5 separate regions of the Homo sapiens genome follow, and all the other regions are linked to region 2. Evidence: promoter capture Hi-C in 16 types of primary human blood cells and fetal thymus (Javierre and others, 2016). All regions are on one chromosome and are shown on one strand. The core of a region is centred on a gene start or on the middle of the fragment in contact, and the rest is flanking DNA. Distances in the headings are between cores, read along the strand shown. Region 1 overlaps THOC1 (THO complex subunit 1). Region 2 holds the start of ZBTB14 (zinc finger and BTB domain containing 14). Region 3 holds the start of CHMP1B (charged multivesicular body protein 1B). Region 4 holds the start of NAPG (NSF attachment protein gamma). Region 5 holds the start of MPPE1 (metallophosphoesterase 1).

Region 1 (5,154 bases), core at 2,559-5,058, 5.0 Mb before region 2:
ACTTTTTCTAGATTCTACTGCCAAAATTCTGAGTCAGTAGAACTAAGCAAGGTTTGGGAATCTCATCTAAAAATAGATTCACTGGTGGTTCTGATGAGCCAGCAAGTCTGGGAACCATTGGGTTATAGTGTGATTCCCCCAAGAGCTTTCACAACCTGTGTCCCAGCTTCCACACCAATCTCTCTCCTTACCCTTACCTGGGCCACAGACATCCCTTTCTAGTTCCCACTCCCCAGTTCCCAAACACCATGCCATGTTCATCCTTCCATGGTTTTGTTCACAATGTTGTTTTCTGCATACTCTTCCTCCTCTTTACCACATGGTAAATTTCAACTCCATCTTTCTAAGCATAGAGTGAATGTCAGCTCATCTAAATAACTCTGATATCCTGAAGCAGGCTACTTCATCTATGCTTTTGAAGCACACTCTACATAAATATACTGTAGCATTTAGCACATCCTAACTAGTCACCTTTGAATGTAGACTATGAGCTTTTTAAGGTTAGGCATTTTTGTATGCTTTAACCAGTAGCATCTCACACTGAATAGAAGCTCAATAAATATCGGCCAAATTGAATTTAACAAAATATATTTATGGATAATTTAAAAACATGTCACATAACCAATTATAGTCTGTCTCAAAAAGAAAAATTATCCCTAAAATAAAAATGCACTATGCCTTTACAGTTTAAGCTCTTAAGTCCTTATCCTTCTCAAAAGTTCCAAGTATAGACTAGACTTTGTACAACTTCTTCATTAAAAACATCACCAGCTGTGCAAGAATAATGTATAAAGGTAATCAATGAACTCAGGACACACTGAACACTGTTTGACTGAAACTAGACAAGGAATATTACATTGTGGGACTCAGCTAACTATGCCTAATGAATGAATGATTAGGCAGCTTGTATAAACATTTAACAAAGTGAATTTATGAACTTAAGTTCATAAAATAGTTTGCCCCTATACTGGGAGGTGTGTGCCAGTTTTTATAGAAGCATCAAAATAACACATAATGTGAATAATGCTTTACAGATTAAAAAGGAGTTTTCACATATATTATTTGAATTAATCAAATGAGTATTTTAACCAAATTGGTTAAAGAAGAATGCTGATAAACTAATTTTTTATTTCTTCTTTCTGCATATATTTAACGAGCTCCTATTTTGTGTTAGGCTCTGTGTACTATGTGCATTGTTTACCCGAAGTCTTCTAAAGCTATCACACACAGCCATTTTAACAGGCTCCTGCCCAGTTTTCCTGCCAGCAGTCACTTCAAATGGAATCATTCATCTGCAGCTGCTCTTTTTTTTTGAGATGGAGTCTTGCTCTGTTGCCCAGGCTGGAGTGCAGTGGCTCGAGCTCAGCTCACTGCAAGCTCCGCCTCCCGGGTTCACACCATTCTCCTGCCTCGGCCTCCTGAGTAGCTGGGACTACAGGCGCCCGACACCGCGCCCGGCTAATTTTTTTATTTTTAGTAGAGACGGGGTTTCATCGTGTTAGCCAGGATGGTCTCGATCTCCTGACCTCATGATCCGCCCGTCTCAGCCTCCCAAAGTGCTGGGATTACAGGCGTGAGCCACCGCGCCCGGCCTGCAGCTGCTCTTTAGTATGGCACCCAGTGCCCTTTATAAATGGACCTAACCTGCTTCTTTCCTCATCATTCTCATTGTCCTCTCCTCCTCCTGCTGTACACAATTCTCTAGCTATTCCTTTCTTAGTATGTCTAACAAATTCTTCATACCTCACATTCTAGTTCTCATGTTCTTTTCTAAAACCTCTCCTGACTCCTTTAGACTGAAGTTTAGAGAGCCATGTTGGCTCTATTCCCTCTAACTACACTTCATTCCCACTTCGACCATAGTACTTACACCATAGTAAGGCATGCATACATCTGTTTCTTCCATTAGCTCCACATAAGCAGGGGAATATGTTTTATTCACCATTGAATCTCCAGGTCCTAGCTCAGTACCAGGCACATAGTAGATGCTCAATGAAAATTTACTGAATGAACAAAACAACTGGAGAACAAAGGAAGTGCCAAAATGTGCACTGCATAATAGAGATGAGAAATAAGAGTGAACTAATTCAACTGGGACTTCTTGGCAAAGTTGGGAGTCAGGCAGAACTTGAAGAATAAACAAAATCAGATAGGTGGAGAAGTATGGGGAGAAGACGTTTTAAATAAAGCATGTCATGTCCAAGATTACTTTAAACAAAACAAAACGGAACCATACTTACCTTCAGTTACTCCCCCAATAGCAAGAGAAATAATAGCTAAAACGTTTTCACATGATGAATGATTTATCTACCAACAGAGGAGAAACAATTTAATTTAGGGGCAAGAGTTCAGACTAAACTCGATTAACAGTAAAAACATGTACTCTGATATTAAATTGACTATCAGAAATATGGAATACAATATTTCTTATAGAAAACAATATTTTCTAATATGAAGTTACCAAAATTTAACAGTAACATATAGAATCAATAGTCGTAGAAGTATGTCAAGTAACAGGCAACTCACTCAAAATCCAATGGTCTCAAGAAAATGGTTATATTAGCAAGATGAAGGCTATAAGCTAATCAAGGACAGAAGTGCTGAAGCCATAACTCAGCCAGTGGCACAGGGCAAAGGCAGGGCTATGAGAATTAACTACTAATACACCCATGTGTCTGAGGGGTGGTTTTAATAGAAGGAAGACAGTGCTTAGGTTCTATAAAATCATAATAACCAGCATTTACTGAGTGTTCATTAAGTGCTGTTTTACACACAACAACACTGAAAGAACGGTATTTCCCCTCTCACAAAAGAAACTGAAGCACAGAAAAGGAAAAGAACTTGCCCAATGCCTCACAATGGAAAAGTGACTAAGTCTGAAGAAAAGGAAAGAATCATTTTTTAATCAGACTTGTCTGAGAGAAAGGGACATTGTACTATGGCCAATAGAAGGGAATCTAGCTTTTGGGGACCCAACCTTTGCTTGACCAAGAATAAACTGTTGAAACTTTTCCTTTCATTCAGGTGCCCCATTATTGGTAAACAAATTCAGATTTTTCATGGTTAGACTTCTCTACCGAAGTTGGAGAGCCCTCAGTTATTTATGTAAGTTTACTGATGAGGAGGATGCCAGAGGAAAATGAGGGAATGGAATCCCAGCTCCTAAGCTAAATATTCTTGGACTAGACCTTTTGCGCCACTACAGGATGTATCACTGCTTATACAGGAAAGTGAGAGAGCCCACCTTCACCTCTAGTTCTTCCTAAGACCTCATGTCAACTTTTCTTATCTCACTTGGAGAGGGCTCTTGTCATTTATTAAACCAAACCCTTAAAATGTACCTGTGCTATCAAAATCCTTAGAGAAATCGTATAGTCATCAAGTCAACTTTTACAAAGCAGAAAGGTTACTCTAAAAAAAGATGTTTAAATATCCATTCTAAGAAAAAAAGCAATTTTTAAATAACATGGTTTATTAATTTGTCAGTAAAATTTTAACAATGGAAAAACATACTTACAATTTCTTCTTCTAGAATACCTCTGAAAGCTTGGTCAAGGGTACATTTTTTTTCATTTTCACTATTAAAAACAAAAGACATCCTCATTTTTCAAACAGCTCAGGGTATGTATAAAGATTGAGGCAAGTATTTTTCATAGATATCAATGCCTTACCTGCCAGGTACCTGGCTGAAGGTACTTAACAATGGCTTGATGTTTTTGTTGTTCAAGGCCTCTCTGGTAGACTTCTAAAAAAAAATTAAAATGGCAAATAATTGTAAAGATTTTGCTTATTATTTGCTGAAAAATATATCGTTCATTGATAGTGTATCTTACTAACTAAAAAATGCTTATACCTGGGAAAAATTACCTATCAGTCATTCTCTCAGTAATCCTTATTCCAATGCTACTTCATGATACGGATCCTCATCACTTTAAATCTGGCAAGAGCTTCCTTGCTGGACTTTTTCATTCTAGGTGATATTTCTGTCTCTTTAAATATCACATTCATGAGTATTGTGCTTACAAAAAAAAAAAATCTCCATATGGCTCCTTATTTGCCCGTTTTAGTTTTGAAGCTTCATAGATCCCTCAAGGTCCTTGATAATGTTATCCCAATTTACCCAAACTTAATTCCCAATACTCCCTAACACATACTTTGCACTAAAGTCTAGCCATTTTTCATCACTTTATATCAAACTCATTCTACTGTATTCACACATTCATGTTGCTCTTCCTACCTGCTCATCCAAATTCTATCCATTCTCCCACACCCATGTCAGGTCTCGCCTCCTGGAGGTATCTTGTTCAGTCCCTGACACGTAGCACTCAATAAAACCATGCTGACAATCTGTAGATTGTTTTAAAGTAATCATAACTTAAAGACAAAAATATTGCAAAAGGCATTCATTCTATGAACACTCACATACACTTAGAAAGTCATCTTATTACCTCACAGGAATTAGATCTATCCTAAATGTGTCCATTCCTTGCTCTGCCACTAACAGGCTGAGTAATTTGGGGCCTGTTCCTTTATCTCTTTGTGCTTCATTTTCGTCACCAGTTAAATAAGAGGGTTTTTGTAGATTTTTACTACCAGCAGCAGCTACAGTGGCATCACCTAGGAAGCTGGTAGAAATGCAAAATCTCAGGCTCCCTTCCACACTTACTGAACAAGAATCTGCATTTCACAAGAAGCTTGAGAAACACTGAACTAGATGATCTCCAATTTCATGGTCCTTTTCAGGGCTAGTATGATTTTTTTTTTTTTTTTTGAGATGGAGTCTCCCTCTGTTGCCCAGGTGTTGTGCACTGGCATGATCTTGGCTCACTGCAACCTCCGCTGTCCGGGTTCAAGCGATTCTCCTGCCTCAGCCTCCCAAGTAGATGGGATTACAGCGCCCACCACCACGCCTGGCTAATTTTCGTATTTTTAGTAGAGACGGGGCTTTGCCATGTTGGCCAGGCTGGCCTTGAACTCTTGACCTCAGGTGATCCGCCCGCCTCGGCCTCCCGAAGTACTGCATTTACAGGCGTGAGCCACTGCGCCCGGCCGCCAATATGATCTTGGATAGTCCTAACAGTTACTCTTAGCAGGCTTTCAAAGCACCAGAGATTGCAGCAAAACGCACACAAAGAAAATGATTATGATGACATA
Region 2 (4,986 bases), core at 918-3,417:
TGGAAGGAGGGGTTGGAGAACCATTAAGGGATTTCTCCTCACACACTAAGCTCATGTCCATATTTGTACAGAGATTGATGGCTACACAGATATAGAAAAAAACAAGTGCACCGTGCCCCCTACACCTATCCCATTTCCCGCTGGGTATGTTAGCCCTCTACATTTTTCTCTCGGCTCATACAAACCTATAGAAGTATATACCTTACAAATAAAGCTATAGAAGTACATAAACCCAACAGGTAACATGGGAGGAGAGGGAACAATGATTGCTTTTTCTTTCTGCACCTGTGTGATGTATTAATAGCATACACGTTTGTTTTTAAGATTGTATTTGATAAATCCAGGTGTTTTTACCTCTATCCCTACAATAAGGGTGAAAGAATTTCAGCTTTTTTGTGAGTTTTAACTCTTACCGGAAGAACTCCATCCTGCAGACCCATATCCTGAAAAACAAAAAGTTTCCTCTACTGAACAGTGACCACACAGATAAGTTGTTTGGTGTGGTAGGAGCAAAGGACTGGGCTGTAACAGTCTTACACAAAAACCATGGAACAAGACTCCAACCTGGAGACCAACACCTTGAAACCCATAATAAGCTCCTTCTAAAGAAAAGTGAACACACCGAGCTACCCAGCGTAGAAGCGGGATGTCTCATCTGAAGTTTGAGGTTAGGCAACATTTCCAAAAGATGATTCTGACTTGATCATTCTACGTGTTTCTGCCTCTCTATTCCCTAGAAGCACCCAGGCCTGTAATCATCCAGAGGCTAGGCAGCCCAGCAAAAACCTTACACTGTGACACTTACTACTGTTGTCACTAACTCGTCCTAGGGCTTGTGGGATAAAAGTGCATGGGACCAGAGAGAGGAGTGGCCTTAGACTAGCTATGACAACATATCAATGTGTTGTTGTTGTTTTGGCTAGTGTGTACTTGGCCACTCGCCCCTCTCCCCTCTCTCTCTCAAGATGTATGAGACCTGGAAGAGAGACCATGTGTGTCCAAAGCCGCCTCCTCCCCGCCCCGCCCCCCTTGCCATTGAGATGTCCAATTGCTCAGTTCAGGTGAGTCAAAACTGGAAGACAGCTGTTGCCAGCATCTGTGTAGGCAGGTGTAGGAAAAGACGTAGCCCCAACACCACCTTCATAATAAGGCTGCCCCTTCCTAATTGCTCTCCAAACTGCGGGCGCGCTAAGCCGCGTTACAGTGCAGGGAGCCGGGCTTCCCGCAAAGCCAAAAACTTACATAAGCAGCTGCAGCCGCCTCCCCTGCCCCGGGCAGCCCGACAATGGCGGCTGCACGACTTCCTTGTTGCAAGCTTGCAACTTCGGAGTCGGGAGGAAGCAGGGAGCCAAGCGCAGACCCAAGAAGCCCTCAAGGCGTATCGAGTCCTCCCTCTCAATTTCTTTGGGCCTGGGAGGTGGGGAGTGGAGGAGGCCGTTTGCACTCCTTCCCAGACAAAAGCTCCCAGCCTGGGAGCCAGGTGGTGAAAGGGCCACTTTCCCTTTCATAATCAGACGTCGAGCGCAGGCTTGGGACCGCGGCTCGGAGCGCGCAGGGAGGGACTGCGGCCCGCGGCGGCCCCGGCGGCGCGACGAGCGGGAGCGGGCGTGCGGCCGGCTCCGCAGCCCCGCGCCGCGCCGCGCCCCGCTCCGCCCGCGAGCCCGGAGCTCGCGCCCCGCGCACTCCCCGGCCAGCTCGCGCCGGGCCCTCCCCCGCCCTCCCGCGGCCGGGGGCGGGGGCGGCGCGCGGCCGGCTAACCCAAGCTCCGCGGGCGCACCCGGGAGTGCGTGCGCTGGGTCCCGGCCCCCTCCTCCGCCGGCGGCTGTAGGCGGCGCGGCGGGGCCCGCGGCTCGGAGGGGCGGCGCCCGGCGGGCCGCGCTCCGCGCTGGGTTCGGGCCGTCCCCACCCCCACCGCGGTGCACTGCGGCGGTGCGAGCGGGGGCGGCCATGAACTCGGCCGCCGAGGCTCTGCGAGCGCGCGCGCGGGGCCGCCGCCGCCTGGCCGCTCCCCGAGCCCGCTCGCCGGCCCGCGCGGCCCCCGGGGCGCCCCGGCCCCACGCCCAACCCTGGCCCACGCCCGTCCCCGCTCGCACCGCGCCGCGCCGCTGGCGGCCGCCGCACATCCTGGAGCTGGCTGGTGCCCCAGAGCTCGGCGAGAACGCGCGTCTTCCGGGCCGCCCCGCCAGCCGCCGGCCGCCCCCGCGCCCGCCTTGCGGACGGCCCCAGCCCCTTCCGCACCCTGGCCCGCGCTTACCTGCAGCCTGGCACAGGCACAGACACTGCCGTGGGTTCCCCGCGCTCGCTAGCAAACGCAGGCCGGGACCGGAGGGGCTCGGGGCGCGGGGGCACGGTGGGTGGCAGTGTGTTTTGGATTTTTTTTTGGAGTTTGGGGAGGGGGCGGGGTGGGGGAAATCGTGCACGTCCCTGATGGTAGCAGCCCTCCTCCTGCACGAGCACAGAATGTCTAGCCGGCCGTGAACACCCCCACCGCCCCCCCCTTCCCGTGCATGCGCGGTGCGGGCTGGGGGGAAGGCGCGCCGCCGGCTTGCGCAGGCACGGAACCCGACCGGGTCTCTAAGTGGGCGAGCAAAGAAAGGGTTAATCCGGGCCCTTGCCGACGCTTTCGTTGGAGACTACGGGGCCGCCCCCGGAGGGCCCTGGCCTGCGCACGCGCGCGCACGCGCGCGGCTTGGGGCGCGCGGAGCCCGCGCGCGGGAGAAGGAGTGGGCGGGGCAAGGGCGGGGCTTCGGGAGCCAGGGAACTTAAGCACGAGCGCTGCTCGCGGACACCCGCCCCGCCTCAAGCTCCCTCCCGCCCTGGTTCGTGGGCTTCCGCCCGCGCCCGGCGCCGGCGCAGCGCCGGGGACGCGGGAGCCAGCGCTCCCGTGCGTGTGCATGTGCGTGGGCCAGAGCCTCCCCCGGGCGCGCGCAGGCCGGGCGCTGAGGCTGCGGGGCTCTGCCGCGTCTCGGAGCGGGCGCCCCGGCCACTTTCGCCCTCCGCGCACACCGGCCGACACCGGGAGGCGCGCCCACGGGTCTGCGGTCTTGCCTCTTGCCGCCGGCACATTGAGTTTGTGGGGGAGTGGACGGTGCACAATAAACACTTGCAGAACAAATGGAAAAAGCGACGTCTTCGATTTGTAGTGTAAAGCGCAACCCCAGTTGCCCAGCAGAAAGGGATCACCCATAGGGCTTCGGAGCTAGTAGGTCCGCGCCCGGACACTCCAAGGAAAAGTCCAGGGGCTGGAGGCGGCGACCCGTCTGTGGCAGTCCAGACCCTGGACTCGATTCGGAGAGCTCTGATAACTTGGCTCTGTCCTTAACATCCCTGCTCAGCGCCAGTAATGGCTCCGTTGCTGTTGAACCACGTCGCCTTCCCTCTGACGCGGCGGCTGTGCCTGTGTCTGGCGTCGGGAGCTGGGAAGTCCCTCCCGCTCCCGCGTTTTCTGCTCACCGAGATGCAGGAGGCCGGACAGCAATGCCGCGCCGCCTTAGAGTCGCTCATGTTGCTTTACCTCACACGCGAAGTTTCCCCGAAACGCGTAATTTAATATCTAAAGATTAGAGCAGAAGCTTCCTCTTGGGCTTATTGAAGATGACATAAGATAGTGCTTGCAACAGGCACCTAAGTAAACATTTGGGAAATAATATGATGATTGGATGTGTTAATTTTCTAAAGGAAGTTCTATATGGCCTCAGTTGATTTTGTAATGTTAATTGACTTTGGTTTAACGTTCCCCAAGGCGACTTTATACGCATCTTTTTTGATGTTCACAAAAGCACCCAAGTTACGGCTTATATGGAGGAAATAGGATGGAAGAGACCGGTTGTAGAGTCAGACATATCCAGTTCACATATTGGGTAAATTGTTTAACTTCTCTAAACCTCAGCTGAAGGAGAGCTATGGAAAGCACCTAATAAGGCACTTGTAAGGATTAAGTGAAATAATGCCCAGCTAAGGTATTAGCTCCATGATGGAAAATCACCTGCACCCACAGATAGTGGGTTCCAGTGGCCTGGACAGAACCAGAACCAAGTCTTCTGCCACGAAAGTTCACACTCATCAGACATGATACCGTGTACTCGCTTTATTCTTGTTTGCGTAGCTCTTGAAGTTGCATTTCAATCCTGTGGATGCTGTGTGTTTATAGGGGGATAATAATAGTACTCTGTCATAGGGTTGCGTCACCAAGCAGTAAAGCAGCCACTGCAGTTAGCACAATGTGTGGACACGGCCAGTACTCAAGTCATGGCGCATCTGCTGCTGGCGCTCCCCCTTCTCCCATACCACATATGGGGTTTCCCACTCATTCTGCGTGTATTTTTGGTCTGCCTACTGTGTAAAGACAATCTTTTCGCATATGGCTAGGAAAAGACTTCCCACGTTTCCACTAACCCGATAACATAATTCACAAGAGTTCTAAAGCACTAGAATGCATTTCTCAAGTGACGGTTCCTGACATCCTGGTTTTGTATCAATGAATCCTCTTGTCTCATTTGTTTTATGTTCATGTCACCTGGGCTCTGCCTGGCTGTCCCTTGCTGGTTCACAGGGGTTGTGGGGATGAGTCTAAATTAAAGGGACAACTCTGTGGGAAGGTGGAGGGATGGGAAACCACAAAGGAAAGGCCTGACCCAAGCCTGGCTTCTCGCCTGTGTCGCCACCCAAAAGTGCACTTCCCAGCACCCAAGAGGCTTTCAATAAACATCAGCGGACAGTAAGTGACAACCTTGAATTTGATACTAAGGGGCTTTGTAAAAGTACACTGTGGCGTCAACGCGGGGGCAGGGCTTTCCTGAAATGCACTGACCCAAGGTCCTTGACAAAGTTTTCCTCCTTTTCCGACAACTCTGATGGGTGACATTTGGAGCACGTTGTTCCTCACTTGGGACACCCATGGCCTCCTGAGTGGAACCTGTTTCTAAGAATTGTGAGGCCCAGGCCATGGGGCCCGCAGTGTGCAGTCCCGGGTGCCAGGGTCTGATG
Region 3 (5,135 bases), core at 1,129-3,628, 6.6 Mb after region 2:
GTATCTACTTCATAGGGTTTGCGAAGCTGAAATGAGTTAATTTATGTAAAGTGCCCAGAACAATGTCTGGTGCATAAGTACTTTATTAATGTTAGTTGTCATTATCATCATCATCTATCGGAGTCTCTCATGATTATATTCCAAACCATCTCACCTAGTCAGAATTTGTCATTAAGAAAACTATGGGCTGGGCACGGTGGCCCACGCCTATAATCCCAGCACTTTGGAATGCCAAGGTGGGCAGATCAACTGAGGTCAGGAGTTCGAGGCCAGCCTGACCAACATGGCGAAACCCCAGCTGTACTGAAAATACAAAAATTAGCCGGTAGTGCTGGCGTGTGCCTGTAATCTCAGCTACTCGGGAGACTGAGGCAGGAGAATCGCGTGAACCCAGAAGGGGGAGGCTGCAGTGAGCCAAGATCACACTACTGCACTCCAGCCTGAGTGACAAAGCAAGATTTCATCTCAAAAAAAAAAAAAAAAAAAAGAAAGAAAAGAAAAAAGAAAACTATGGAGCATGACATGGAAGCTGGATAAGAAACTTGTTTGCAAACTCCAAGAAAAACCAGGACCTAAAAGAAGGGAAGAGTGGAATGGAGGGTGAGCAGAGTAGGGGGCCTAAGCTCTCTATATCCACTTTGAACAGATTTCTTCCCCTTTTTTTTGGTTGTTTATATTCCATTTCTAGAAAAGTTTCATTTGGAAAAAGGGTTCTACTGCTTTGCGGGGCAAAAAGGAACCATAGCTAAGCTGCTAACTAGGGTAACATCCTATCCCCTCTGAAATACAATTAAATTCAGCAACGCCATCTGGATTCAGTGGCTGCTGTGTGCAGAGCGCCTGCTGGGCTCCATGGAGAGGGGAAGGAATCAGTGTCTGCATCCAAGTAGTTCACACTGTAACAGGTGACCTATACACACAGACCCCTTGCCAGGCAATGTGCCCTGTAGTATGGCCACACAGAGGAGGAGTCCTGGGGAGGCTCCATGGTGAAGGTGGCTTTTGAAGGACTGGCAGGGTGTCAATAGGCAGAGATGCATGGACACTAAAATCCAGGCAACAGGAACAGCATAGCCACAGGACCGGGCGTCAGTCACATTCTCCCCGCTGGCCGAATGACGCAAATAATGCTCAAATTCCATGCTGCGGTTTGCTTTGACTGGCGGAGGTGGAGGGGCGCGAAAGACGAGCCAGCATGCTGCACAGCAGGTTTAGCCTCCATGCCCGGGGTTTGGAGCAAGAGAGTGAAAACATCAGAGCTATGTCTTCAGAAGGTCTTGTGTTGTGAAACTGACTGGCAAGCTATCACAGGAAGCTAAGCGAGGTGGCAGGCTGCTAGATTAAAATGATCTCTAAACAGAATTCGCTCTCAGAGTTCATTTTCAGCCTACCTCATTAGGGCAGATTTGGTCTTCTCACATTGTTATTGCTGTATCGGAGGAATCTTTCTAAAGAGAAAAGTGACAGCACACATTGCTGCCATTTGAAAGCCAGCATTTTTAAAGGGCGTAATACATAGTGACAGTTTTGATGTATGCCCGTGGGTGTGGGTCCTGATATCTCAACATACTCTGCCTGCATAATTTAAAATGACAGTTTAGCCTGTCAAACTTAAATGTGAGTGAAGTTCCTTGGATATTTATAAAACATCAAAAAGACAGAATGGTGTCAGCAAAAGATGGGTCTTTTTATTACTAAACCACGGGACGATTTTTGGATAATTGCTGGCAACTCACCTAGAAGCTGAACTTCCAGACAAAGTATAAATTTGGTGGTGCCACAGTTTTGAAGATTATTTTCACTCAATGCAATAAAAGGATATTACAGAACTCTAGCACAAATTGTAGTCAAAGATGGAGACGCGTCAATGACCCGTTTGTTTTTAATGTGTTTTAATGTTTTTGTTTTTAATGTATCCATGGTTTCCAGTTCCCCTGAGAAAGTGGAAATTACCCATGCTAATAAAGCAAGCGTTAGTGCGAAGACCTAGCTGATGTTTGGCTGGTTTTTAGCCCGCTAGCCAGTCACCCTTTATAAAGCCTGCCAAGTTTGGAGCGTGGGTAATTTTACACGCGGGTCTCCACAGATCCTGTCTACTTCGGTAGATTTATTACTAGGAAAGTGCGTGGGGGCACTAATTTTTGTGAATTGACTAATGCGTTAGAATTTTAAAAACCGGGTAGAACGCAGCGCAGGAAGCGAGCGTTCCCCGCCGCAGCGCCGGAGCGTCCAGCCAGAATCCCCCTGCATGCGCAGCCCCTGGCGTCTTACGTCCCACAGGCCCCACCCCGGCGCCTTCCGTCCCGCAGGCTCCGCCTTTGGCGCTGGGCTCTGACGTCACCACCTGCGCCGCTCACAGTAGAAACAGGAAGTGGGACCAAAACAAAGGAGCGGCGGCCGGGAGCGGACTTACCTTACCTTCTCTGCCTTCGGCGCGCTTCTCAGCCGGGCCGCCGACCCAAAGGAGCCGTCCGACTATGTCTAACATGGAGAAACACCTGTTCAACCTGAAGTTCGCGGCCAAAGAACTGAGTAGGAGTGCCAAAAAATGCGATAAGGAGGAAAAGGCCGAAAAGGCCAAAATTAAAAAGGCCATTCAGAAGGGCAACATGGAAGTTGCGAGGATACACGCCGAAAATGCCATCCGCCAGAAGAACCAGGCGGTGAATTTCTTGAGAATGAGTGCGCGAGTCGATGCAGTGGCTGCCAGGGTCCAGACGGCGGTGACGATGGGCAAGGTGACCAAGTCGATGGCTGGTGTGGTTAAGTCGATGGATGCGACATTGAAGACCATGAATCTGGAGAAGATTTCTGCTTTGATGGACAAATTCGAGCACCAGTTTGAGACTCTGGACGTCCAGACGCAGCAAATGGAAGACACGATGAGCAGCACGACGACGCTCACCACTCCCCAGAACCAAGTGGATATGCTGCTCCAGGAAATGGCAGATGAGGCGGGCCTCGACCTCAACATGGAGCTGCCGCAGGGCCAGACCGGCTCCGTGGGCACGAGCGTGGCTTCGGCGGAGCAGGATGAACTGTCTCAGAGACTGGCCCGCCTTCGGGATCAAGTGTGACGGCAGAACCCGCTCTGAGGTTTCCTGGCCATAGCCACCCTTTGAAATGCTCTCTGTGTGTTAGAGAGATACTATACCCTAGAAACTCTGAACACGCCAGAATGCTGAAATGCCCTTCTACCTTTGGGTTTACAGCCCCCTCCACATAAATTAAGAAATTCAGTATTTCTGCACTCTTAGCTGGATTCTAAAGTTCTGTATAGCTCGTAATGATGGTATTTTTATAGCAGCCTTTTAACAGAACTAGTTAATTTCGTGTATATGAATCTTTCTCGAAGATCTGGTCAAAACTGTATTCAGTTTCCTGCCCAGAATGATCAGATTGAAGGTGGTTGGTTTTTATTATTATTTAGTGTGATTGATAGTATCTAGAATGGCAGGTGGTGCATAAAAGTTAAAGAGAGGGGAAAGATTACTTAGTTTGGTTATACAGTTATAAACACCATGCAGTGTATTCGGTGGACTGTGCTATTTCTGTTTATCCTTTGGGTTTTGGTTTTTGTTTTTTTTTTTTTTGCCTTCACAGTGAGACTGCAAATGATTGTTCTCATAACGTATATTATTAATAAATGTGGTCCTATAATTTATACTGAAATTACCTTAGGATATTTTTGCATAATACTCTCTTACTGCTTACATTCTATAAATTTTTCACGTGATAATTGTCTTTGCGTAACTGGGAAAAATGCCGAATAACTTCCTTTATTATCTGGAAAAATTAAATTTGTTCATTTATATTTTCTACTTACTAAATTGAGTTTTTAAAAAGACTTAGTGTGACATTTGACAGTGTCTTTCAAACGAACTTCTCTAACAAGTTTATAGTTATTTTCCTGTTTCAACACTATTAGAAGTCTTATAAATTATGCTAATTAGCATGGCAGTCATGTTACACACTCTTAACATTGCCAAAGAACTGTTGATTTCGTTTGAGAAAACCCTAGGACTGTGTGTGTGTAGGTTTTGTTTTGATTTTAACAACCAAAAATAGAAATAAAATTAGAACTGCGTTTTAAGTTCTAATTTGCATTTATTAATTTGTCCAAAAGCAAGAACTCTTGGAAATCCTTGAAAATATAAGCTGGAATGTTTTACTTAGCCATGCAAGTCATTTATGTATACATCCAGCCAGCTGGAAATCTGAGAAGTAAAGAGGTAGGACTGGAAGGAAGGAGAAAGCTTGAGTCTTTAAGGCTAGAGCCCAGCTGTGCTGCCTGCCATCTTCTCAGGAATGGCAGTGCGTATTTTCTGGCTGAAAAGTAAAGCATGTATCCACCGCTTTCTCATAGCCTCGAAACATGGAGAAAAGCAACTTGCTTTTGCCTTGGCAAGCATGCTAACCTAAGTTAATTCAAGTTTTTTTTAACTTACCCTTTCCTTCACTGGAAGATTTTTCCATAAGAGAATTCCATTGTTTCAGAAAATAATTATAGGGGCCCTTCCAAGTTCTTTGAAAGATTCATAACCAACTATTCACTATTATAACATGTTTCCCAGTGTAAATGAGTAAGGAAAAAAAAAGTGTAACAGGTGCGTGCAGATGAGGAGTGACCCTCATATTTAAGTTATTTTATATTTGACTGGACATTGTTCAGAAGTGTGCTTTAAGGGACACTTGTTAGTTGTCTGCCCAGCATCTCTCAAGAATATCCCTCCTGTCCTCCACATGGTTGTGCAGGGCCATGTGTGAAGACAGCATGAGTCTTAACCCCTCTTTTATTTTATTTTTGAGACAGAGTCTCGCTCTGTTGCCCAGGCTGGAGTGCTGTGGCGCGATCTCTGCTCACTGCAACCTCCACCTCCCGGGTTCAAGTGATTCTCCTGCCTCAGCCTGCCGAGTAGCTGGAATTACAGGTGTGCACCACCATGCCCAGCTAGTTTTTTTGTATTTTTAGTAGAGACAGGGTTTCACTATGTTGGCCAGGCTGGTCTTGAACTCCTGACCTCAGGTGATCCGCCCACCTCAGCCTCCCAAAGTGCTGGGATTACAGGCATGAGCCACTGCACCTGGCCTTAACCCCTCTTTAGATTGGAAAAAATAATTACAACTTTAAAAAT
Region 4 (4,457 bases), core at 895-3,394, 5.2 Mb after region 2:
AAGCTGCCTTTTCTGTTAGAAAAGAGATGGTTCAGGGGTTGTTTCTTAAAACAGGAAAATTTCCACTGAGAACATTTACCCTTACTATCTGCCTAAAAAGTATTTCTTAATAACTGCTATATCACTATCGTGGGGTTTTTTTCCCATTCTTTCTTTGTTGATGCCAAAGTAAAATTAAGTTAAATATTGTATCCTCTCATAGATCATGAATGCAATGAGGGCAGGCATTATATCTCTTGCTCAACAATTGGGTCCTAGGTGTGTAGGCTTAATGTCTTGTGCAGAGTGGGCATTCAGTAAACAATAATTCAATAATGAATGAATAAATAAGGGAGAATGTGGAGGAGGTTATAGGCTTAGAAAACTTTCTGGGCACTTTCAATGGTTTTAGAGGGTGATGGTATTGGGTGGTTAATAAATCTAAACTCACTTGAAAACATAAGGCTTTCCACTGGTAACAGTCCTTTTATATTTAATCAGTCATCCCAGAGTTGTGGTGAATTGGAAGTCATGGCCAAAGTATTTTACACTCCTCTATTTTCCTACCTCTTGAATCTGAACTTGCCTTATGACATGTTTTCATCAATAAAATGTGGCAGAAGTAATGTGCAGTGGGAGTCCAGGCCTTACGAAGCCTGAAGTTTCCACTTTCACTCTCTTGAAATTCTGCTGCCTTCCTATAAAGGAAGCCCAGGCTAGACAACCAAATGAAGAGGGGTCTTGTGTGTGGGTACTAAATAAGAAAGTGAGGATAGAGAAAAAAATCCAAGGCCAGTTCACCTGTTGGCACTAGAAAAAATGCAAAATATTGATTGGCAAATAGATGCAGGAAGATCGATCGATTGTGTGGTGAGGCCAAAGGGAAGAACTCTTCGAATAGTTATTTCATATTCAACAATAAGTGAGAGTTGGCAGGCAAGCAGAGATTGTGTAGGAGTTTTGAGAAGGAAGGTGTGAACAGCCCTCCAAGTGAGTGGGTGAGTGATTTGACCATGGAAACATAGGAGAGTTGCTCAGCAGCACCAAAGGTCGGCTTAATGTTTATGATCATTAAAATGAGTAATGTTAGCATCCTCGTTTGTTTTTTTCCAGTCAAATTCACTTGCTCAAGAGCAGTTCCAGAGTAGGTGGAGAGCTGGGGTTTTTCCTGGCTTGGAGAAAGGAGGGAGAGGGAGCCAAGGCCGTTGAGAGTATACGCACTAAAATGATGGGACATGAATTTATGCTGGGAAAAGAAGGACGTGTAAGAGCAGAGGGATAGGGAAAGGTGAGGAATCTGGTGAAGGTTAAGTAATTACTAGCACTAGGAGGTATGAGCTGGAATGGAAAGGGGAAGTAAAGTGAGCTGTTTGAAACTGACACTACGGAGGGTACACAGTTATGAGTAAGGTCAAGGGTGTGATCCCAGGAATGTGTGGCTGCGCTAGTGTGGGAAAGATCACAGGAGGTTGGAAGCTGAGAGGCTGTATAGTCATTGCAGGAATCATCCATGTGGATATTGAAATCACCATGAATTATGAATGAAGCCAACTGTATTACTGGTTACTATTTTTACCAGACCACTGTACGCGACTTTAGATCCCTCAACTTCCCATTTAGAGCACTTATCACGGCTTGAAATATTAGAGCGATTATTTGGGTTGGGCGCGGATTATTTGACAGTAATCAGGGTTTACAAGTCTGTTTCGTTTCTTGACTGACATACAATTAATACCCAAAAGGCAGAATGGATAGAAGAATACTATTCTATCTGTCATACAGAGAAACTTCAGATGTAATAAATTATAAAGCCAATTAACCCTACAAACAGGATCCACAGCAGTTTCACATTAATGAAAAAGCAAGACTTCAAGAGGGCGGGAGTTTTTGTCTGCTGATCTTCCCGCATCTAAAATAGTGCCTGACACATATTAGGTGCTTTGCAAATATTGAATGAAAGAATACGCCCCATCAGTATCTCACCGCGCCTGCGCTAGATGCCCTAGGTGGGGCCAGCCTTGACGCGCTGCGCCTGCGCAATGTCTCTTTGCGGGGCGCACCGGCAGGCTCCCAGCCCCGCTTCGTCGCAGCGGCTTGGGCCCTCCGGCCCTCCGTAGCCGCTCGACTGTCGCGCTGCACCAGCTTCCTCCTCGGCGTTCCCACGCCTATTTGGGCGGATTCTTGGCGCCGGAGGAAGAGGCAGGGTCACCCTCTCTCCACGTCAGAGACCTGACTGTGGAGATGGCGGCTCAGAAGATAAACGAGGGGCTGGAACACCTCGCCAAAGCAGAGAAATAGTGAGTGAGAACCTTCCGGGGGCCTGTGTGTAGACGCCGGGTCCGTCTCTCACTGGCGCGGCCTTAGCACCCGGGGGGGGCGGGAGGGAGGGCTCAGGGCTGAGGGGCCTCGGCGCGCTGGTGCCCGCAGGGCTGCCGGGGCTCGGTGTCCTCTGGGTCACACTCCCGGGGTCGGGGTCAGCTCTGCGGCGCCTCGGGAAGCGCCGTGGGTCCACCCCGCCGGAAGTCCGCTCCCCAGAGCCGGTGTGGGCGGGGACTCGGCGCAGTGCTGCGGGGCGAGGGCTTCTCTACTTGGGCGCTCTGCTCCTGAAGATTGTGGTGGGGGCTGTCTGTGCATCGGAGGCTCGTTAGCAGCATCCTTGGCCTCTACCTGCTGGGTGCCGGTCGCATCTCTTCCCCATTTGTGGCAACCCAAAATGTCATCTGGGGAACAACATCGCTCTGTTGAGAACCACCGCCCTAGAAGAGCCCCCTGTGTGGAGGGGACCATAGGTTTACCCCAAAAACTCCTCGGTGAACCTTTGTCATCTGGCATTTTACTGTCCCTGTGGGCAGGGACTGTGCTTCGTTCGTCCTTTGATGTGTATGTCCTGCCACCTCTGGTACAGTACGTAGTAGGCACCCTGCAAATGTTTGTGGGACTGAACTGATAATCCTTAATTCATCCTTTTGGCAGCCTCTTCCCCCCGTTTCATTACTCCAGTGCATTTTTATCTGGCAGTTACAGTTAATAGAAAGTCAGCATTGTGGGCCGGGCGCGGTGGCTCACGTCTGCAATCCCAGCACTTTGGGAGGCCGAGGCGGGCGGATCACAAGGTCAGAAGATCCAGACCATCCTGGCTAACACGGTGAAAACCGTCTCTACTAAAAATACAAAAAATTAGCCGGGCGTGGTGGCGGGCGCCTGTAGTCCCAGCTACTCGGGAGCCTGAGGCAGGAGAATGGCCTGAACCCGGAAGGCAGAGCTTGCAGTGAGCCGAGATCGCGCCACTGCACTCCAGCCTGGGCCACAGAGCGAGACTCCGTCTCAAAAAAAAAAAAAAAAAAGAAAAGAAAAAGTCAGCATTGTGCTCTGTGGTGGGTGCTTCACATACATAATTTCATAAGCTGAGATCTTCACAATAACTTTCCAAATAGAGATTCTAATTTTTCGTAAGAGGAAATGAGACTCAGGGAAGCCTCATAACGACTTGCCCCCAACTGCACAGGTGAAAGATCGCAGAGCCAGTTTTCAAACAGTGGAAAAACTCAAGCTCTATCACATGACTCGAGGCAGTCAGCGTGTAAGGTGCTGGGGCTCTCCTGGTGCAGGAGGTTCCCACAACATTCTGCTTTCTAGTGGGAGCAAACGCAAAATTTGTAATAAGAATAGTGTGTGGAATAGGGACCACAAAAAAGCTGTATTAACTGTGCATAGGTAACCCAGAGGGAGAAGTTTATTCTGCCTGAGAAAATTTGAGGAGGAGATGATTTGTGAGCAGAGCTTGAAAAATACGGAATGTTTTAGACGGAGGGAAAATCTTGTGAAAGAGATTCTGTGCGCAACCTGTAGTATGTATTATACGCGGGCCTGAAAATGTGCTCTGGGAACAGTGAATGTAGTGTAGTCACAGTGCCAGGGGACGAGCTGGAGTGAAAAAGAGTTGGGGCCAGACTGTGAAGGGACAGCTTCTCACATGGCTATTGTAGGCATCCAACCAGTGGACTCGGTTAGATTTGCTTTTGGTGAAAGAAATGTGGCAGCAGGCTGGGCCCTGTCGCTCATGCCTGTAATCCCAGCACTTTGGGAGGCTGAGGCGGGTGGATCACTTGAGGTCAGGAGTTCGAGACCAGCCTGGCCAACATGGTGAAACCCTGTCTCTACTAAAAATACAAAAATTAGCCGGCTGTGGTGGCGCGCACCTGTAATCCCAATTGCTCAGGAGGCTGAGGCAGGAGAATCCCTTGAGCCCTAGAGGCGGAGGTTGCAGTGAGCGGAGATCGCGCCACTGCATTCCAGCCTGGGAGACAGAGCAAGACTCTGTATCAAAAAAATAAATAAATAAAAAGGAAAAGAAAAAGAAATGTGGCAGCAGTGTGGAGAATGGACTTTGACATATTCAGTAAACGAACATTTACAAAGTTGTCTCTGTGTACCTGTACCAGCCACAGAGGATACTGGAGTAACCAAAAGTGGTCCCT
Region 5 (5,068 bases), core at 220-2,719, 6.6 Mb after region 2:
CCGTCTCAAAAAAAAAAAAAAAAAATTTATCTTTGAACTTTTCAATTTGTATTTATTTATTTATTTATTTTTAGAGATAGGGTCTCACTCCACCGCCCATTGTAAATCAAAAATGAAATCCTAAGACCCCTCAACCATCTGCATGGACCCCACCAAGGGCATTCCAGAGTTAACCTTGTTTTAGGTTGTTTTAAGCAAAACTTGTTTAGGCCATGATGGGAAGTGGGGGTGGAACTTGACACATTTCATCCTCCTCCCTTTTAGAATTCAGGAAAAGCAGACCAGCATTTAACATGCTGGACACTTAACTTACCTGGAGGCTTCATCTGCATGATAAAACTTCAGTCTCCACAGCCTCTTATTGTAACCCAAACATTCCTTTCCATTGATAATAAATCTTTCAACCAAATGCCAATCAGAAAATTTTCAATCTACCTATAACCCGGAAACCCCCGACCCACCCACCTCCTCAGCTGTCATACCTTTATGGACCGAACCAATGTACATCTTAATCTTACATGTATTTGACTGATGACTCATGGCTCCCCTAAAATGCATAAAACCACACTGGGCCCCGACCACCTTGCGTACGCGTTCTCAGGGTCTCCAAATGGCTGTGTCACCAGCCATGGTCACTCATATTTGGCTCAGAATTAATCCCTTCAAATATTTTATAGAGTTTTGACTTTTTGTCAACCGCAGGCTGCGTCACAGCTCGCTGCAGCCCCAAACTCCTGCGCTGAAGCGATCCTTTCCCCCACAACTTCTCGAGTAGCAGGGACTTCAGGTGCGTGCCACTACACCTGGCTTTTTTTTTTTTTTTTTTTGGTACTTTTGTTGTTATGGTGGGGGCGGGGGACTTGCTATGTTGCCCAGGCTGGTCTCGCATCTCTGGGATCAAGCCATCCTCCCACTTCAGCGTCCCAGAGTGCTGGAATTACAGGCCTAAGCAACGGCACCCAGCCTATCTTTTAATTTTTAACTTCAAAGTTATCGTTAAAAATCTAATCCCCCCAAAATATGAAAAAAATACTTAATATGCACTGACCTGTAGTTTTTCTCTAATTCACTATCTTAAATATATTAATTGCAATCTCATCAACTGCGACTTGCATTTGAAATTTTCCACCTTAAACGGTATTTTTTGATAAGATGGATTTTTTAAAAAATCTACACCAGCAAACTAGAGTGAGAGACCCCTGCAAAGTAATACATGGGCCTTAAGTCACCGAGATTTTCCAGCAAATAATTTGCAGAATGCTGTTTTTCCTAGGTTAACTTGCAATCCTAACACGGAAGGAGGTTCCGTTTTTAGAAGTTTAAATGTTGTCACACGGGCGCAAGAATACATACAACAGCCATGCTTTCCAGCTCTGCGCACAACGCCAGGCAGATGGGGAGCACCGGGCGGTGCGGGAGCCCTTTCACCAGGGCAGGGTGGCTTCGGTGGCCGAGGGACCCGGGAACTGCAGCCGGAGCCGGCGCGCACCCAGCCAACTTCCTGTTTCCGCGGTAGCGCGCGGGCCTGTCACTGAAGCCCCGCCCCGGCGACCTCAGGCGGGCGGGGAAGACCGAGTCTTCCCGGAGCCGCTTCGTCCGCCCGGCGCCGGAGTCCCACGGCCGGTTTGCGGAAGCGGGTCGTCTGAAGGGGCCCGGCGGGTGGCTCCCGGGTCTCCGCGGCCTGTGATCCCCAGAGCGGACAACCGCAGCTGGGGCTCCGTGCGCAACTCGGAGTAAAGGCCGGAACCTACGCTCGGCGGCCGCGTCCCGGCCCCTAGCGCCCTCCGCGAAGTGCCTGGCAGGCTCGGCAGTCTGAGTGTCGCGTTACAGAGTCCCCTGGGCAGTCACCGCTGAAGGGCGGGGGACGCGGGAAAGGCATTTTGGGGACACAGGAGAGCTGCGAGGGCGAAGCACGGGCGAGCTGTCGTTAGGGCCCAGGAAAGGCCCGTTGCGGGGCGCACAGGCGGGCAGGGGAACTCGCGCCCCGCGCCGCGCGCCCGGCCTCCTGACGCCAGGGCCGGCTTCTGAGCACAGCCACCGCGGCGGCCGGGGGCGGCCACTGCTCCCCGCGAGCCCGCTTCCGCGCCCCAGAAGCCCCCAGAGCCCGCGTCCGAGCTCCAGGCCTTGGAGGAGCCAGGCGGGCAGCTGACAGCCCCGGAGCCGCTCCCGGGTTCCGCGCGCGGTGGCAGCCAGGCCGTGCCTCCCCGTTCCCCTCCCGCGCCGCGCTGCCCCTCCGGGACCCACCAGGCCTGGCTGCGCCTCTTTCCTCTCCTCCCCCGGAGCCTTGGAAAGTGCCCTCCAGAGATGTGCTTAGGAAGTGTGTGATGAATAAAGGAGACAATCAGGATAACTATAATATTTATTATGCACTTGCTTTTTTCTCACTGATGTTACTAATTTTAATGGTGTAGCGCGGCGCGTTCCAGTTTTCTAAGTGCTCTCACATCCGTTCAAAAAATCCTCAAAATAAGCCTGTATATTAAAAGCAGGAGCCATTATTTCATATTTCAAGAAGTAAACATGCTCAGAGTAATAATCCACATAGAGCCTTCCAACCAGTCAATTCTGGTACATTTTCACAAATCTATGAGTGTGGTTAATACACGGAGATGTGGTTTGAGGAATTATATAGGACACAGCCAGCAAAATGCCTGGTATACAATAAGTATGCGGTAAATGGTTATTATTATTAAGAATATTGTAATATCTTCAGATATGATCAGGTGAACAACTTTGACATAATCGAAACTGGGACAGCCTGATTCCATAAACACACTAATATGGCACCGTGGATTGTTTGCAGCCTCACCTCTAAAGTATTCTCTCTGACTAACAAAGAAAGGGAAACTAGAACCAGTTAAGCTTATAACACTAATCACAGGCTAAAGGAAATACAGGGGCCAAATGAACCCATTAGATTACACCACCAGGAAGTAATCTGCCAAATCCAGAATGTGGGAAATTCTACAAACCAAATGACCCAATTTCTTTTTTCAAAAATAAATGTTCAGAGGCTGAAGTGGGAGGATTGCTTAAGGCCAGAGTTCAAGGCTGTAGTGAGCTATGATCACAGCTGTGAATAGCCACTGCACTCCAGGCTGGGCAACACAGCTAGACCCCCCATGTCTTTAAAAAAAAGAGGGTGGGGGGACCTTGAGAGACACATTAGCCAAATGCAATTTGTGGACCTTGTTTGGGTCATGATTAAGACAAACAAACTTTTACATAAATAAATGGCATTTTTAAAAACATTGGCGGCCAGGCGCGGTGGTTCTTGCCTGTAATGCCAGCACTTTGGGAGGCCGAGGCGGGCAGATCAGGAGGTCAGGAGATCAAGACCATCCTGGCTAACACGGTGAAACCCCGTCTCTACTAAAAAAAAAAAAAAAAAAAAAAAAATTAGCCGGGTGTAGTGGCAGGTGCCTGTAGTCCCAGCTACTCGGGAGGTTGAGGCAGGAGAATGGTGTGAACCCGGGAGGCAGAGCTTGCAGTGAGCCCAGATCACGCCACTGCACTCCAGCCTGGGCGACAGAGTGAGACTCCATCTCAAAAAAAAAAAAAAAAATTGGGAAACTTAAACATGGACTGAATGTTAGGTGACATTAAATAACTTCAGGTAATTTTATTACGATAATACCATAGTGGCTATGATTTTTAAAGGCCTCAGAGAAACATATTAACATATTTACAGGCAAATTATATTATTTCTGGGATTTGCTTTAATAAAATTTAATAACAAATTCCTGGAGTTTTTTAGAGAACAAAGTGAGAGATAGGAGAAACAATATTGGCAAAGTGTTTAATGTTTAAGCAAGGAGATGGGTACATGGGCATTGTGCTAGGCCTAATTATGCCCCCCAAACATGCCCACATTCTAATCTTCAAACCTGTGAACAAGTTACCTGACATGGCAAAAGGGGCTTTGCAAGTATGCGATGAAGAACCTTGAGATGGGAGATGATCCTGGATTATCCCAGTGAGCCCAGTCTCATTGGGTCCTTCCGAGAACCTTTACCTGCAAATGAGAATTGGAAAGAGACGTAACACTGGAAGGAAGTTCAGAGAGATTCAACCTGACAAGGATGTGGCCGCTGGTGCTGACTCCGGAGATGGAGGAAGGGGCCACAAGCCCAGGAATGCCACAGGTGGCCTCTCAAGGTGGAAAAGGCAAGGAATGAATGATCCTGCAGATGCTCAGGTGTCCTGCCATCACCTGAGTTTTAGCCCAGTGAGCCCCGTGTGGGCTCCTGACCTACAGGACTTGTACGGTAGTAAATTTGGGTTGTTTTAGGTCACCAAAGTGGTAGTAATTTGTTACAGCAGCCATAGAAAACTAATACAAGCATTTGCTATATTTCTCTCTATGTTTTTGTAAGTTTAAGATTTTTTTCTGCTGGGTGCGGTGGCTTACGCCTGTAATCCCAGCACTTTGGGAGGCCAAGGAGGGCAGATCACAATGTCAGGAGTTCGAGATCAGCCTGGCCAATATGGTGAAACCACGGCTCTACTAAAAATACAGAAATTAGCCAGGAGCGGTGGCATGCGTCTGTATTCCCGGCTACTCGGGAGGCTGAGGCAGGAGAATCACTTGAACCCAGGAGGTGGAGGTTGCAGTGAGCCGAGATCGTGCCACTGCACTCCAGCCTGGGTGACGGAGTGAGATTCTGTCTAAAAAAAAAAAAAATTGTAATAAAATATTTATTAAGTCCATAAAACATAAACCTAAGAAATACATTTTTAAGGTAATTCATTTACACCTGAAGTGTAATCTGACCAACCATAGAATTATACCATGCATTTTAATTTCCAAAAGAATTATATGTCATAAATCCCTTTTTAAAAAGCATTGTTGAGTATGGTTAGTAAAATAATGTTAATTTTCAAAGTCACAGATATAATAAAGCATCACGGATATAATAAAGCATGGCATGACCTATTCCTGACTTTATTTATTTATTTATTTTTGAGACAGAGTCTTACTTTGTCACCCAGACTAGAGTGCAGTGGCTCATCTTGGCTCACTGCAACCTCTGCTTCCCGGGTTCAAGCCATGCTCCTGCCTCAGCTT

The links. Contacts are between HindIII fragments. The CHiCAGO score rates a contact against its expected background, and 5 or more counts as called.
Region 1: a fragment that was not itself captured here is called in contact with the fragment with the promoter of ZBTB14 in region 2 in 1 of 17 cell types (fetal thymus); the score reaches 7.4 in fetal thymus.
Region 3: a contact is called between the fragment with the promoter of CHMP1B here and the fragment with the promoter of ZBTB14 in region 2, in 1 of 17 cell types (naive CD8 T cells). The highest score is 7.5, in naive CD8 T cells.
Region 4: the fragment with the promoter of NAPG here is called in contact with the fragment with the promoter of ZBTB14 in region 2 in 2 of 17 cell types (total CD4 T cells and non-activated CD4 T cells); the score reaches 5.8 in total CD4 T cells.
Region 5: a contact is called between the fragment with the promoter of MPPE1 here and the fragment with the promoter of ZBTB14 in region 2, in 5 of 17 cell types (non-activated CD4 T cells, total CD4 T cells, total CD8 T cells and 2 more). The highest score is 15.1, in non-activated CD4 T cells.

The regions. Positions count from the first base shown.
Region 1 is chr18:261,786-266,939 of GRCh38, forward strand. It overlaps THOC1 (THO complex subunit 1), which reads right to left. Exons shown (of 21, transcript NM_005131.3): 2 at 3,672-3,745; 3 at 3,518-3,578; 4 at 2,241-2,307. Among named protein-coding and RNA genes, the nearest start is that of THOC1, 3.7 kb to the right of the region's middle. The HindIII fragment of the contact is 529 bases long and covers 3,545-4,073 here.
Region 2 is chr18:5,293,559-5,298,544 of GRCh38, forward strand. It overlaps ZBTB14 (zinc finger and BTB domain containing 14), which reads right to left and starts at 2,168. Exons shown (of 4, transcript NM_001243702.2): 1 at 2,094-2,168; 2 at 414-443. RefSeq lists enhancers at 751-1,438, 1,439-2,125, 2,814-3,499, 3,217-3,376 and silencers at 1,567-2,506, 2,587-3,006. The HindIII fragment of the contact is 2,257 bases long and covers 1,314-3,570 here.
Region 3 is chr18:11,849,035-11,854,169 of GRCh38, forward strand. CHMP1B (charged multivesicular body protein 1B) reads left to right here and starts at 2,379. Exons shown (of 1, transcript NM_020412.5): 1 at 2,379-5,135. The coding sequence starts at 2,478. The coding sequence ends at 3,077. All of the region lies in intron 5 of GNAL (G protein subunit alpha L), which reads left to right. RefSeq lists enhancers at 2,232-2,471, 2,740-2,789 and a silencer at 2,796-3,090. The HindIII fragment of the contact is 8,099 bases long and covers 1-4,254 here.
Region 4 is chr18:10,523,883-10,528,339 of GRCh38, forward strand. NAPG (NSF attachment protein gamma) reads left to right here and starts at 2,145. Exons shown (of 12, transcript NM_003826.3): 1 at 2,145-2,276. The coding sequence starts at 2,221. RefSeq lists a silencer at 2,288-2,537. The HindIII fragment of the contact is 5,497 bases long and covers 1-4,457 here.
Region 5 is chr18:11,906,848-11,911,915 of GRCh38, forward strand. It overlaps MPPE1 (metallophosphoesterase 1), which reads right to left and starts at 1,470. Exons shown (of 11, transcript NM_023075.6): 1 at 1,354-1,470. It overlaps LOC101927511 (a long non-coding RNA gene), which reads right to left. Exons shown (of 4, transcript XR_007066296.1): 4 at 3,702-4,015. RefSeq lists a silencer at 1,863-2,262. The HindIII fragment of the contact is 5,797 bases long and covers 1-2,860 here.